2 separate regions of the Homo sapiens genome follow, and region 2 is linked to region 1. Evidence: promoter capture Hi-C in human tissues and cell types (Jung and others, 2019). All regions are on one chromosome and are shown on one strand. The core of a region is centred on a gene start or on the middle of the fragment in contact, and the rest is flanking DNA. Distances in the headings are between cores, read along the strand shown. Region 1 holds the start of PODXL (podocalyxin like). Region 2 has its middle 120 kb from the start of PODXL.

What was found. The method cuts DNA at HindIII sites, captures the fragments that hold promoters and counts their contacts. A contact is called where the count stands out against the background at its distance.
Region 2: a contact is called between a fragment that was not itself captured here and the fragment with the promoter of PODXL in region 1, in 6 of the 25 tissues and cell types used here (IMR-90 fibroblasts, aorta, bladder and 3 more).

The regions. Positions count from the first base shown.
Region 1 is chr7:131,554,352-131,560,503 of GRCh38, forward strand. PODXL (podocalyxin like) reads right to left here and starts at 2,277. Exons shown (of 9, transcript NM_001018111.3): 1 at 1,909-2,277. The coding sequence starts at 2,008. RefSeq lists silencers at 1,898-2,407, 2,488-2,547, 2,578-2,697 and an enhancer at 2,665-3,212. The HindIII fragment of the contact is 6,040 bases long and covers 1-4,085 here.
Region 2 is chr7:131,670,898-131,676,377 of GRCh38, forward strand. No RefSeq gene overlaps it. Among named protein-coding and RNA genes, the nearest start is that of PODXL, 120 kb to the left of the region's middle. The HindIII fragment of the contact is 6,509 bases long and covers 1-5,318 here.

The DNA.
Region 1 (6,152 bases), core at 1,027-3,526:
TTTGCACTTTTCTAAGTGCTTCCCAACAGTGCTGCATACTATAATGCATACAGTGCTCAGATAGGCCAAGTTACTTGCTGGTTAGAGCAGGCACTGGGTTATGGTCATTTTTGTTTGCCACATACCAAACTTCTGCCATGTGCCAAACCCTGTGTTAGGCCAGAAGTGGTGCTTCATGGAAGAGACATGGTTTCTGGCAGTGCCCAGGTGCCAGGAAAAACAGTGCCATCCTTGAAGCCAGCAGTGAGCTGGAGTCAGAGCTTTGCCCACTGGTGACTTATGAACATTTCCTTTTAGGGCAGACAGGGAGGGTCTTGTCCCACAGTGCCTCCCACTCCTCAAAGGAAGGGTGGCTCAGCTTCCTTAAGCTCAGAAGCACTAGGGACTAACCCCTCTTTCCTGACACAGCCCAACGCCCTTCTGGGTGGTTCTAAGAGGCTTCCCAACAAAAGGTTCGTATGAAGGCCCACCCTGAAGTCCAGCTGTCCCCAGAGTAGGGCTAAGGAGCCACCATACTCTCGTGTCATCTCAACCCTGCATGTCGTGTGGCTCTTCAGTGATTGCCACTCTGAAAGCTGTTCTGACTGTTCCTCACACTGCAGCCCCTCTTCCAGGGACACACATTCTTCCCCCCGCCGGGACCTTCCCTTTCTAGTCAGGCTGGTGGAGTCTCCCGCCGGCCACAGGAGGATGCCCACGCCTGCCTGCTCCCTGAGTGCCAGCGCCTGCCCACTACCAAAGGTTTCCTGCGGTGCAGAGGAGAGACTGTACTGCCCTTCCATCTCCCCTGGCCCCTTAGAGTCCAGTCCCAAACTGCCGGCACCTGCTCACAGCAGAATCCCTACCCTGTCTGTGCTGTCCCCGCAGTCCTCCTGGCCCTAGGGTGATCACACCACCTCAGCTCTTCCTGCAGACATGTGCTCAGGTGGGCAAAAGAGAATGAGAAATGCACCTCTCCCGTGGGGCTGAGCTGACTCTGGCTGTTCCCTAGGGGCTTAAGAACACCTGTTCTGGTTGAGTTTGCAGCCATCGCCTGTCCCCCAAAAGGGAAAGAGTAACATTTCACCTTGAAAAGAAACAGGGAGGGGATGTTTCTGAGGTGCAGGTGTTTCATGAGAGACAGGTACATTTTCTAAGGTGTGTCTAAAATGCAGCCCAATCCTATTCTACGAGAGAGAAGTTCCCGTTTGAACAAGTTCCCGTTTGAACAAGAGGATTCGAGGGGGGTCTCACCATCGTAGCCACGCACTAAGAAGCGATTGTTTTAGGGACACGGAGGTAGGACCCCCACTCAGCCAGGTGACTCTGGGACTGTGGAAGGTCCACTTACGACTCTGTACCTGCCCCAGCACGGGCTCAAGGAGTTGAGCCTGCACACATTACTTAGAAAAAACCTCTGCAAACGGGTAAGTACATCGCCCGCGTGGGCCGTGGCTGGAGGCTTGTCACCTGCTTCAGGGACTTCCTCGGGAGCCTCTCGCCTGCCTCTTTGCCTGGAATTAACGAATACACACTACAGCCCCTCATTCCCTCCAACACGAAGGAAAGGTGTAATCAGATCCCGAGAGTCCCGCAGAAGCGTGGAGCCTCGCGGTGCGGTCTCCCTTTTCTTTCCCATGCAAACCCACTTAGCACCGGCGCGCCCCTGTTTGCCCGGGCAGAATCCACCGCCCACTCCTCCCGAGTGGAGAGTGGAGACGAATCTACGCCCAGGCCCTGCACCTGCCGCGCTGCGGAGTTTGGAGGGGGCGTGGATGGTGCAAGGTCAGGGCTCCGTGTGTGACCCCGGCGGTGATAGGGCTGCTCGGGGTCGGACCACGCGGCGCGCCGGGCTTCCCTGCAGCTCGGCCGGGCAGGGGGCACATGGGCACGGTGGGAGTCCCGGCGGAACCCAGGCCGGCCACTCACCATTCTGGGAGGGCGACGGCGACGGCGACGGCGACGACGGCAGCAGCGGCGGCGTTGACAACAGTAGCAGCAGCGCCGAGAGCGCCAGCGCGCAGCGCATCGTGTCGTCGCCTCTGGGCCGGGAGCAGGTGGCTGCGGTGCCGGCGGAGGATCCGCGCGTCCGGGCGGTAGGAGCGTGGGCGCCGCCCGGGGAGGCCTGTGGGTGGCTCCGGAGGCCAGGCTGTGGCCCGGGGCTCCCGAGTCGCGCTGCGGCGGCTCTTCCTCCCTGCCGCTGCAGCAGAGCCGGGCTGGGGCGCAGAGCCAGTGGCAGAGGAGCGGCGGCGGCGGCGGCTGCGTCCTGGGCGGCGTCTGCGCGGCTGCGGCCCCACTGGCGGCTGCGGCTACTCCTGGCCCGTCCCGTCAGCGCCGGCCCCCGCCCCCGCCCCCGCCCCTCCCCCTCCCCCAGGAGCCCGCCAGCGGCGGCGGCCGGGCCGGGCGGGGCCGGGGCCGGGGCTGGGCGGGCGCTGGGCCGTGAACAATGAGCAGAGGAGGAAACTCCGCCCTGGAGCGCGACGGGCGGGAGGGCCGGCGGCCTCCGCGCCTTGGGGGGCTGTGTGTGCGCGGGGGCCAGGGCGGGGGGCTCCTGCGGTGCAGCCGGGCCCCGTCCACAGGTGTCCCGAACAGGTGTGTCCCCCCGAGTGCTTCTAAGTGGGCCCGGCGGGATCCCCCAGCACACCGCCGGGGCCCTCGCACTACGAGCAAATCCGGAGCGGGCGGACCCCCAGCCTTGCGTGGTAACTGATAACCATTCACGGCCTCCCGGGCTGCTGCGCGTTCTGCAGCGACCCCGGAGAAGCTCATCTCCCACCTGCCAAGTGCAATTCACCTGCCTGTGGGGCCCCCATCCCGCACGGCTTCTGAGCGGGGTCTCTCTGCAGCTAGGTGTGCAGCGGGCAAGCTGGACTAATTCACTCCTTCACCTCTCCAAGGGTAGGTTCCTTACCTGTGAAATGGAGATGATGGTTAAAAAACAACAGCAACAACAATTTCAGGGATGAATGTGTGCCAGGCTTTACATATATTAATTCTTTTACTCTTCATGACAACCATATTTTTAGCCTCATTTTGCAGACAGGGCAATTGAGTCAAAAAGAGGTTAAGAAACTTCCTGAGGCCACATAACGGGTAAGTGGCAAACCTGCCTCTGAGAGAAGTTTGGAGAAATACCGTGCACCGTGCCTGGAATATAGTAATTGCTCTGCAAGGAGTGGTTATTACTCTTATTCCTGCTATATAAAGAACAGCTATAAAGATTAGGGCTTTTGGGTCAAAACAGGCTGGGGCTCAAAACCTAACTGTGCCAATCTATTAATTGTAAAACCCTAGGCAAGCTATTCTCAGTACCTCATTTCTTTTTATCTGTAAAATAGGGATAATAACACCTACCTCAGGGGGTTGTTGGGAAACTTAAATGTGATCTTACAAGATAATACTTAGCCTAGGGCCAGGAACACAAAAGTCTCAATGAATGAAGTAGTTCGCCCTCCAAGTGAGGATCAGAGATATTTGCACACTGGGGGTGGGAGTGGGTGTTGGAGAATTCCGTAAACTGAGTTTATCCGGTGAAAGAACAAAGAAGTTCCTTTCCCCTCCCCCGCTCCCCTCCTTTTTTCCACCCCCAAAGCTGCCTGGGAGACGCAGACCCCAGGCCCGCCTGAAGAGGAGGCACATCGGCGGAGCCGGGAAGCGGAGGGGGCGAGGGGTGATTAACCTTGGAACCCGGGTACGGCGTAAATTTGGCTCACGTGACTCCGGGGTTGCTAATCTGGAGTCTATCTGCCAGATGGGGCTGGGTGGAGGGGTTTTCTCCAGGATCTAGCCGCGTCCCGGGCACAGGGGACTCCGTGAGCCCCTCAAGTCGGCTGCAAGCAGGCGATGCCTGCAGGGCACTGCGTCCCTGGAGCCGCGAAGGAAGCGCTGGAGCCCTGGCTGGGGTTCCGTGGCAGCCGGCCTCAAGCTTGGGAAGGGCTGACGGGGTTGTTTTCATCAGGAAGTTTCTGCAGGATCGTTCTGGCCCCGTTTTCCACACCGCATATGGGAAAGACAGAGGGTGTTCCCTATGAATACTCTGGGATATTTGTGTGTGTGACTATCTTTGATGTTTTTTTAGTACTGTTCCCCTGATATCATGTCAACAAAAGGCTTGTTTCTCTTCTGAAACCAAGCAATATATATATATATTTTTTTTTACACTGGGATTTTAAAAAATGTGTATCGCACTCTGATTTAAACAGTGTTTTTGCACTCAATCATTCAATTTATCTAAAAACTCAGAAGCAATCATGTTAACTTTATAAAGAGAGAGCGTATATTTTGAAGCTTAGGGCATTTTAAATTCACATGATTTGGGATTGGTGCCATTACAAGATCATGCAAAATTAAAATGAGAGCAGACATCTGGGCTTAGAGAAGACATAGAAAAGTTACAATTGTGCTGGACTCTCCCCAGTATCCAACAGCCCCCCTCAACTTATGCACAACGTGGCTTTCTGGAATGAGGCTGGCTGGGTTTTGAGGTCACTGGTGGCCACTGAGATGAGCTACCCCCAGGTAACTGGCCTGTGCCTTTGGCCCCATTTAGCATTGTGCTCTAACTAGCAAGCTCGCCAGCCCAGAACACCTGAGCTTATATTTGAAACCCAAAGCACTTTATGGGTGCTGTTTTTGAAGCTTTTCATCAGGAAGTTTCTGCAGGATCATTCCTTCTGGGATTTGTTGCATTTTGGTTATTTGTATACATGCGTTAGCTCTCCTAGCAGACATTCAGCTTCTTTAACATGGCGTCTTTCTTATTCATCCTTTACTTACTCAGACCACCAAGAACAGCACATCACTTTTTTTTTTTTTTTTTTTTTTTTGAGACAGAGTCTTGCTCCTGTTGCCCAGGCTGCCTCCGCCTCCCAGGTTCAAGCAATTCTCCTGCCTCAGCCTCCTAAGTAGCTAGGATTACAGGCATCTGCCACCACACCCGGCTAATTTTGTATTTTTAGTAGAGACGGGGTTTCTCCATGTTGGTCAGGCTGGTCTCGAACTCCCGACCTCAGGTGATCTGCCCGCCTCGGCCTCCCAAAGTGCTGGGATTACTGGCGAGAGCCACCGCATTTTTATCAAGCAAATGGTTTTGCTGCCCCATGGGCACAGAAGCCAATACTATGAAGCACTAGCTTTGGAAAAAGCAGCGGCTTTATTTGCAAAACTGGTCAGCAAAGAGACAGGAGTGAATTCAAATCTGTCTCCCCAGCCAGGCACGGTGACTCATGCCTGTAATCCCACAACTTTGGGAGGCTGAGGTGGGCAGATCACCTGAAGTCAGGAGTTTGAGACCAGCCTGGCCAACATGGTGAAACCCCATCTCTACTAAAAATACAAAAATTAGCCAGGCTTGGTGGCATGCGTCTGTAATCCTAGCTACTCAGGAGGCTGAGGCAGGAGAATTGCTTGAACCTGGGAGGTGTAGGCTGCAGTGAGCTGAGATTGCACCACTGCACTGCAGCCTGGGCAACAGAGCAAGACTCCATCTCAAAAAAAAAAAAAAGAAAAAATGTCTCCCCAGTTTGAGGCCTGGGGTAAATTTATGGGATCAGAAGGCAATGAAAAGATTTAGGAATGTTGGCTTGGCAGAATCTGATTGGAGGGCTTTAAATTTGACCATTTACAGAAAGGTATGTTGAGGCGGACTTTTAGCCCCACATCTTCCAAGCCATTGTACGTCTGGCTTCTGAGAGAGTTCTGGCATTCGGATTCCCATCAAGTCTCTTAGTCTTTTTAGTTCCAAGGGAGAATTCATTGTTTTGGGGTTGTTGTTAGAGTTCCAACTATTTTCTATTGCTTATGCTGGAGCAACGTGACATTTTGTTATCAACAGAGCAAGCCCAGTTTGGGCCTTTCCCTCAGTTACAACATCATACATATAGATACAGATACAGATCTATAGATACAGATCTTGAATGCAAATATGAATGTCACCTGGAAGATATTACGCAGGAACCCATGGCACAAGGTTACACATTTTTCCATGGCCCCTGGCTGTCAATGTTAGGGGCCATAATTCTCTGCCCCAGGTGCAATTTGGTGATGTTGTTTACCTAAGTGCATCCTTATGTGCAGACTCAGTAAGTCCTCTTGACCCTCATTCTAAGTAATACTGATCCCCAGTCACAACATCTAGGGGTGAGACAAAGCGTCCGCTACCACATCCCCCAAGA
Region 2 (5,480 bases), core at 814-3,313, 120 kb after region 1:
GAAATACAGTTAACAGGAGATTTATTTATAAAGGAAGCTTGACCCCTGGCATTGCCTGGAATCAAATGATAAGAAACTGAGAGTTTTGAGAAAATTACACATGCTGCCAAAGAACCATTGGCCTCATCTAGACTTCATTTGAATCTTAAAACAACTTTCAACTTTTGGGTCCTCCGGAAAATGTGCTTAGGAGGATGCTCTGCCCATAAGGAAGGCATATCTTCTGGGTTTCCCTGCAATTTTGGCCAAAGATGGTGGAAAAGGGATATCTCTTGAAGGGTAAGCTCAGGCCTGCAGAGAATGTTCCAGGAGATGGAGTCAAGACCTAATCAAGAATACACTTTATCCCTGGGGAAGAATGCTCTGAGATTTCAGAATTGCTGTAACCCATTATTCTCTTTTCTGAATGGGAGTGTTTACTGCCATTTTTTTGTCCCATATTTCAATATTAAATATTGGTACATTGGCAAAGCAGCTTATCTTTTTAGTCTTCTAATAAAGAGATATTGACCCAAGATCTAGAGATAACTACTCGTCACTTTGATGTAAAAATTACTGTGAAAATTTGATATCTTGGGGTTTGAGCTTGATGCTATGTTGGTATGGAGCCTTTGAGTTATCTCCTTTGAGAAAGGAAGAGTATATTTGCATCCAGGAATAAGAGTAGACCAAATATTGGGTTTTGAATAAGGTTAGACTGTGTGAGTCATTATTGCTCTTCACCAGTATTTCTGATTCTCTTCTTACCTATTGTGCTAGATGGGTTGCTCAGGTCTGACATTGGTCATGCAAAGGGTTGAATGAATTCTACAATGTCACAAGACATGCATAAAGAAATAGGTGCTACTTTATAAAAGGACAAAATCACAAGACCAGGGCTAGCAAGGCTTGATGCATGCAGTCTTTCTCGGTGATGCCAGGGCCAGACCACCTGCCCTCAGGGCTGGGGGTTCATTCCAGTGGAAAGCTTCTTCTACACTGTAGTGTCCCTTTCTGTAGGGAAAGTATAAGAGTGTGGCTTTATTAGGGGAAAGACAAAAGATGCTTGGTGCTAGGCCATCTGGATTTGGGGTGCTGGGCTTATCAGATTTGTCTAAGGACCTTGAGCCTTGTGGGATGTTACAGTCATCTCTGATGGGGGAGGAAGAAGATACCAGTGCAGGAAGATGAGCTGGACACTGCCTCACTAGCTGGGAAGAGGGAAAATCTCCCCAGTACTAACCAGCTTGCTGTCTGGGAAACCCATGGTGAGTGCCTTGGGTTGCATTTCTCCATGCCCTTGAAAATAGAAGCATCCGTATGACTTACTTTGGCCAATGAATGTGAGCATTTGAAGCCTCCCAGAGCCTGTATGCAACTTGCCCTTTTCTTCTCCCTACTATGGTCACCGTTGAAGTTGCAGAAAATGAGCCTCCATCAGCCTGTGTCCCCGCGTGAGGACAGTGTGAAACAGACACTCCAGCTGAGCTGTGAGAGACGAGCAGCATGAGGCAGAAATAAACCTTCGTTGTCTTACACTGTTGATTATTTGTGAGTTTTTTGTTTGTTTGTTTGTTTGAGATGGAGTCTTGCTCTGTCGCCTAGGCTGGAGTGCAGTGGCATGTGATCTCGGCTCACTGCAACCTCCGCCTCCTGGGTTCAAGAGATTCTCCTGCCTCAGCCTCCCAAGTAGCTGGGATTATAGGCACGCACCACCATGCTTGGCTATTTTTTTTTTTTTTTGTATTTTTAGTAGAGACGGGGTTTCACCATGTTAGCCAGGATGTTCTCGATCTCCTGACCTCGTGATCTGCCTACCTCGGCCTCACAAAATGCTGGGATTACAGGCATGAGCCACCGCGCCTGGCCTGTGAGTTGTTTTTAACTGCAGTATCACTGTCCTAGTCTACCCTGACCAATACAAACGAATCTTCTGAGTGATGGGATGTGCACATCCTTGGCTTTCCTAGATATTGCCAAATTGTCTTCCAGAGTAATTGCTTCAGCCAGTGCTATTCCTTACAGGAGAGAGAACTCAGAGCTTTTCTTTTCTTAAACTCCTACCCCGCAATGGTCATCACTGGATTCCAGTTGGCCTTTGAGTTGCTACTTGTTATCCTGGGTCTCAGGCAAGAATGGGATAGACCTGTCAAGGAGGGAAGAAGAGTGAGAATCTAGGCAGATAGGATGAAGACTGAAAACCTGGCAGGTCAGAAATCAGAGAGGTCAGCTGAGACAGGGAGAAATGAGTGTCCAAGGTCTGGTCAAAGAGGTCCCAGGCCAGGTCAGCTGAGAGCTGCCTGGAATGCACACTTGGAGCCTGGAGAACAAAAGACGCATCAGGGGCTCAGACTAAGGGCTTGGGCAAACAGGTGTCAGGATTCAGGCAATGGTTTTGGTACAAGGTAAGGGGATCCCCAGCAGGGATGGAGCAGAGGCTAAGTCAACCAACTTCTGGGCCAGGAGCTTCTTGCTTGGCTGGCGTAGGTCTTGGCACCTGGGTAGATCAGTTCGCAGAAAGACACAGACAGACATGCCTGGGTGGAAAAAAGGGTTTGAGGGGAAGAGAAGACAGGGGATCTCTGAAACTCCAAGACTCTGGAGTCCTAGAATGAAATGAGGTAAATGAGGTAAGATTTTTTCAGCCCTGTTGCTCTTCCTTCTTTTTGACCTGTCTGGTCCCATCCTCATGTGGGTCTTCAGGGTTTTCCCTTGGTACATAACTTTTCTCTGCAATCACCATTTTTTATTCTTCGTATCTTCACTGGTATCTGGCCCAGGGTGAAGAAAGGAAGTAACATTTATCAGGCACCTACCACATGCAGACACAGAACTGGGTACTTTTAATGCACTATCTCTTTTAATCCTCCCAGTAACTCCTTGGGGTAGCAGTTATTATGCTGTTTTATAGATAAGGAACCTGGAGTTTGGAGAGCTGAGTAATTTACATGAAGTCACATGAACAGAAAGTGGCAGCCTGGACTGAGAGACAGTCCAAGTCTATCGGACACCAGAGGCCATGCTCCTAACCACAGTGCCACATCTGCTCTTCTTAATGGAATGACCGTCCTTCATTTCCATGTCATTGCTCTTTAAATTTAATTTTGGGCTAATTGACCTAAGGGTTCAGTGGAGTCTCCTCTGCTGTCCCCAGATCATTTGTGTAGGATGGGGCAGTTCACATTCACCTCCTTCCTCAGGCGGGAAGTTTCACCCTCACTGACACCAGGGTCCCCAAGGAACAAGCCTTACTGTCTTTTTTTTGCAGGGCTGTGTGGCATGCTCAAACATATGGTTGGTTAGAGAGCCCACACAGAGGCATCACCAAGGGAAGAGGAGCTGCTCCCTCACTTAGGAGCCAACAGGTCCTGTCGTACAGGCAGTAGGTTTTTGCAAGGACCCGGGGGAGTGAATGATAGGCAGGGGGGAGGGGGATAAGCAGGGTGACAGCTGCTTCTGGTGGCTCTGGGTCACGTTCCAAGCCTAAATTAGCCTTGCTCTTTTCCAGATCTTCTGTGGGCTTGCTGCAGGCTGTCTGGCTGGTGCTTCTCCTCCTAGGCATGGATTAGTCCTTTTCTTCCCTTTCCAGTCTTCCCTTTTGGGTTTTTGTACTAGAGCTAGCTCACTGAGAGGCTAGATGGGGTGGCCTAAGTTTGGGCTGAGGCATGGAGGAGGGTGCTTGTATCTCTTCCTTGTCTTTTCTTGTTCTTAGGATGCACCTGTTTAAAGTTTTACCATTAGAGATTATTTTATTACAATGCAACCTGAAGTAAAGTCTTATAAGCAGAATTTGATATTCTCTGAAGACAGTATATTTGCATTAGTCCATTTTCATACTGCTCTGAAGAAATACCGGAGACTGGGTAATTTATAAAGAAAAAGAGATTTAATGGACTTTACAGTTACACAGGGCTGGGGAGGCCTCACAGTCATGGCGGAAGACAAAGGAAAAGCAACTTCACGTCTTACATGGTGGCAGGCAAGGGAGCATATGCAGGGGAACTGCCCTTTATACAGCCATCAGATCTCCTGAGACTTATTCACTACCACAAGAACAGTATCAGGGAAACCATCCCCCGTAATTCAATTATCTCCACCTGGCTCCACCCTTGACACATGGGAATTATTACCATTCAAGGTGAGATTTGGGTGAGGACACAACCAAACCACATCAACACACAAAAATAAAATTCTCATATTATTCTACTCCCATGCAGGGTAATTATGTCAACTAATAGGGGAAACCCATCCTGCCTCCTGCCCATCTTACACACACCCGATTGTGCCCCGCTCTTAGAAGGCTGTGGATGGAGGAGGAGGGGCTCCATCCAAGAGAGGAAACAGAAAGGGCAGTTTGGGCAGGCCGGGCCACTCACACAGGCTTGCTCTCAGCCAGCTCTGCTGCAGGTTCAGGGCTGGAGATACCAAGTCTGAGCCTCATCTCTTTCACAAACTTGGGGTACAGCCTAGTGAAAATTACTTCTCCTTTCTGAGCCTCTGTTTCCTTTTATGGAAAACAAAGGTTTAGGAAGATGATGCCCAAGATCCCTTCCTGTCTGACCATCCAGTGAGTCTATACTTGTTCTCTGCAGACTCTGCACTGCAGAACAGTTTCCCAAGTCTTGGTGTATCTTTCTGGCTTAGCACCATGGCTCTCTGCAGAAAACTGATCTGTGCCCCCACCCCACAATTGATCCTTTTGTTTTTGGAGACGGAGTCTCGCTCTATCGCCCAGGCTGGAGTGCAGTGTCATGATCCTCTACCTCCTGAGTTCAAGCGATTCTCCTGCCTCAGCCTCCCGAGTAGCTGGGATTACAGGCACATGCTAGCAGGCGCAGTTAATTTTTGTATTTTTAGTAGAGACGGTGTCTCACCATGTTGGCCAGGCAGGTCTCGAACTCCTGACCTCAAGTGATCTGCCTGCCTCGGCTTCCCAAAATGTTGGAATTACAGGCGTGAGCCACTGCGTCCAGCCCACAGTTGATCTTAAAAGCAAGGCAATACAACACCAACTGATTTTCATATTAACTCTGCAAACAACAGAGGTAACTCTAGGAAGGGTCTGCTGAAGGGTCGTTTGGCTAAACTGGGCTTTGCTCCAAGGTGCAGGGTGATGCAGCCCTCCTGGAAGCATCACTTTGATGCAGCTTGGTGCATGCACAGCACAGAAAGGTTTGCAGCAGTCTGGCTTGCCACTTGCCACTTGCCACTTGCCTGGCTGGACATTCTCTAGACCTTTGGGGGTCCTATCTCACTAAAGATCCTGACAGTTGCCAGACAGAAGGCAGTATAAAGGCACTTCCCATCATTTGGGCCTGAGTTTTCTTTGGGATCGTTCCCCAAATAGCTCATTCTTCTTTCATGATGTGTGTTCCCTTTACACTTTTAATTATTTCTTTTTTTTTGAGACAGAGTTTCACTCTTGTCTCCCAGGCTGGAGTGCAGTGGTGCGATCTTGGCTCACTGCAACCTCCGCCTCCTGGGTTCAAGCAATTCTCTTG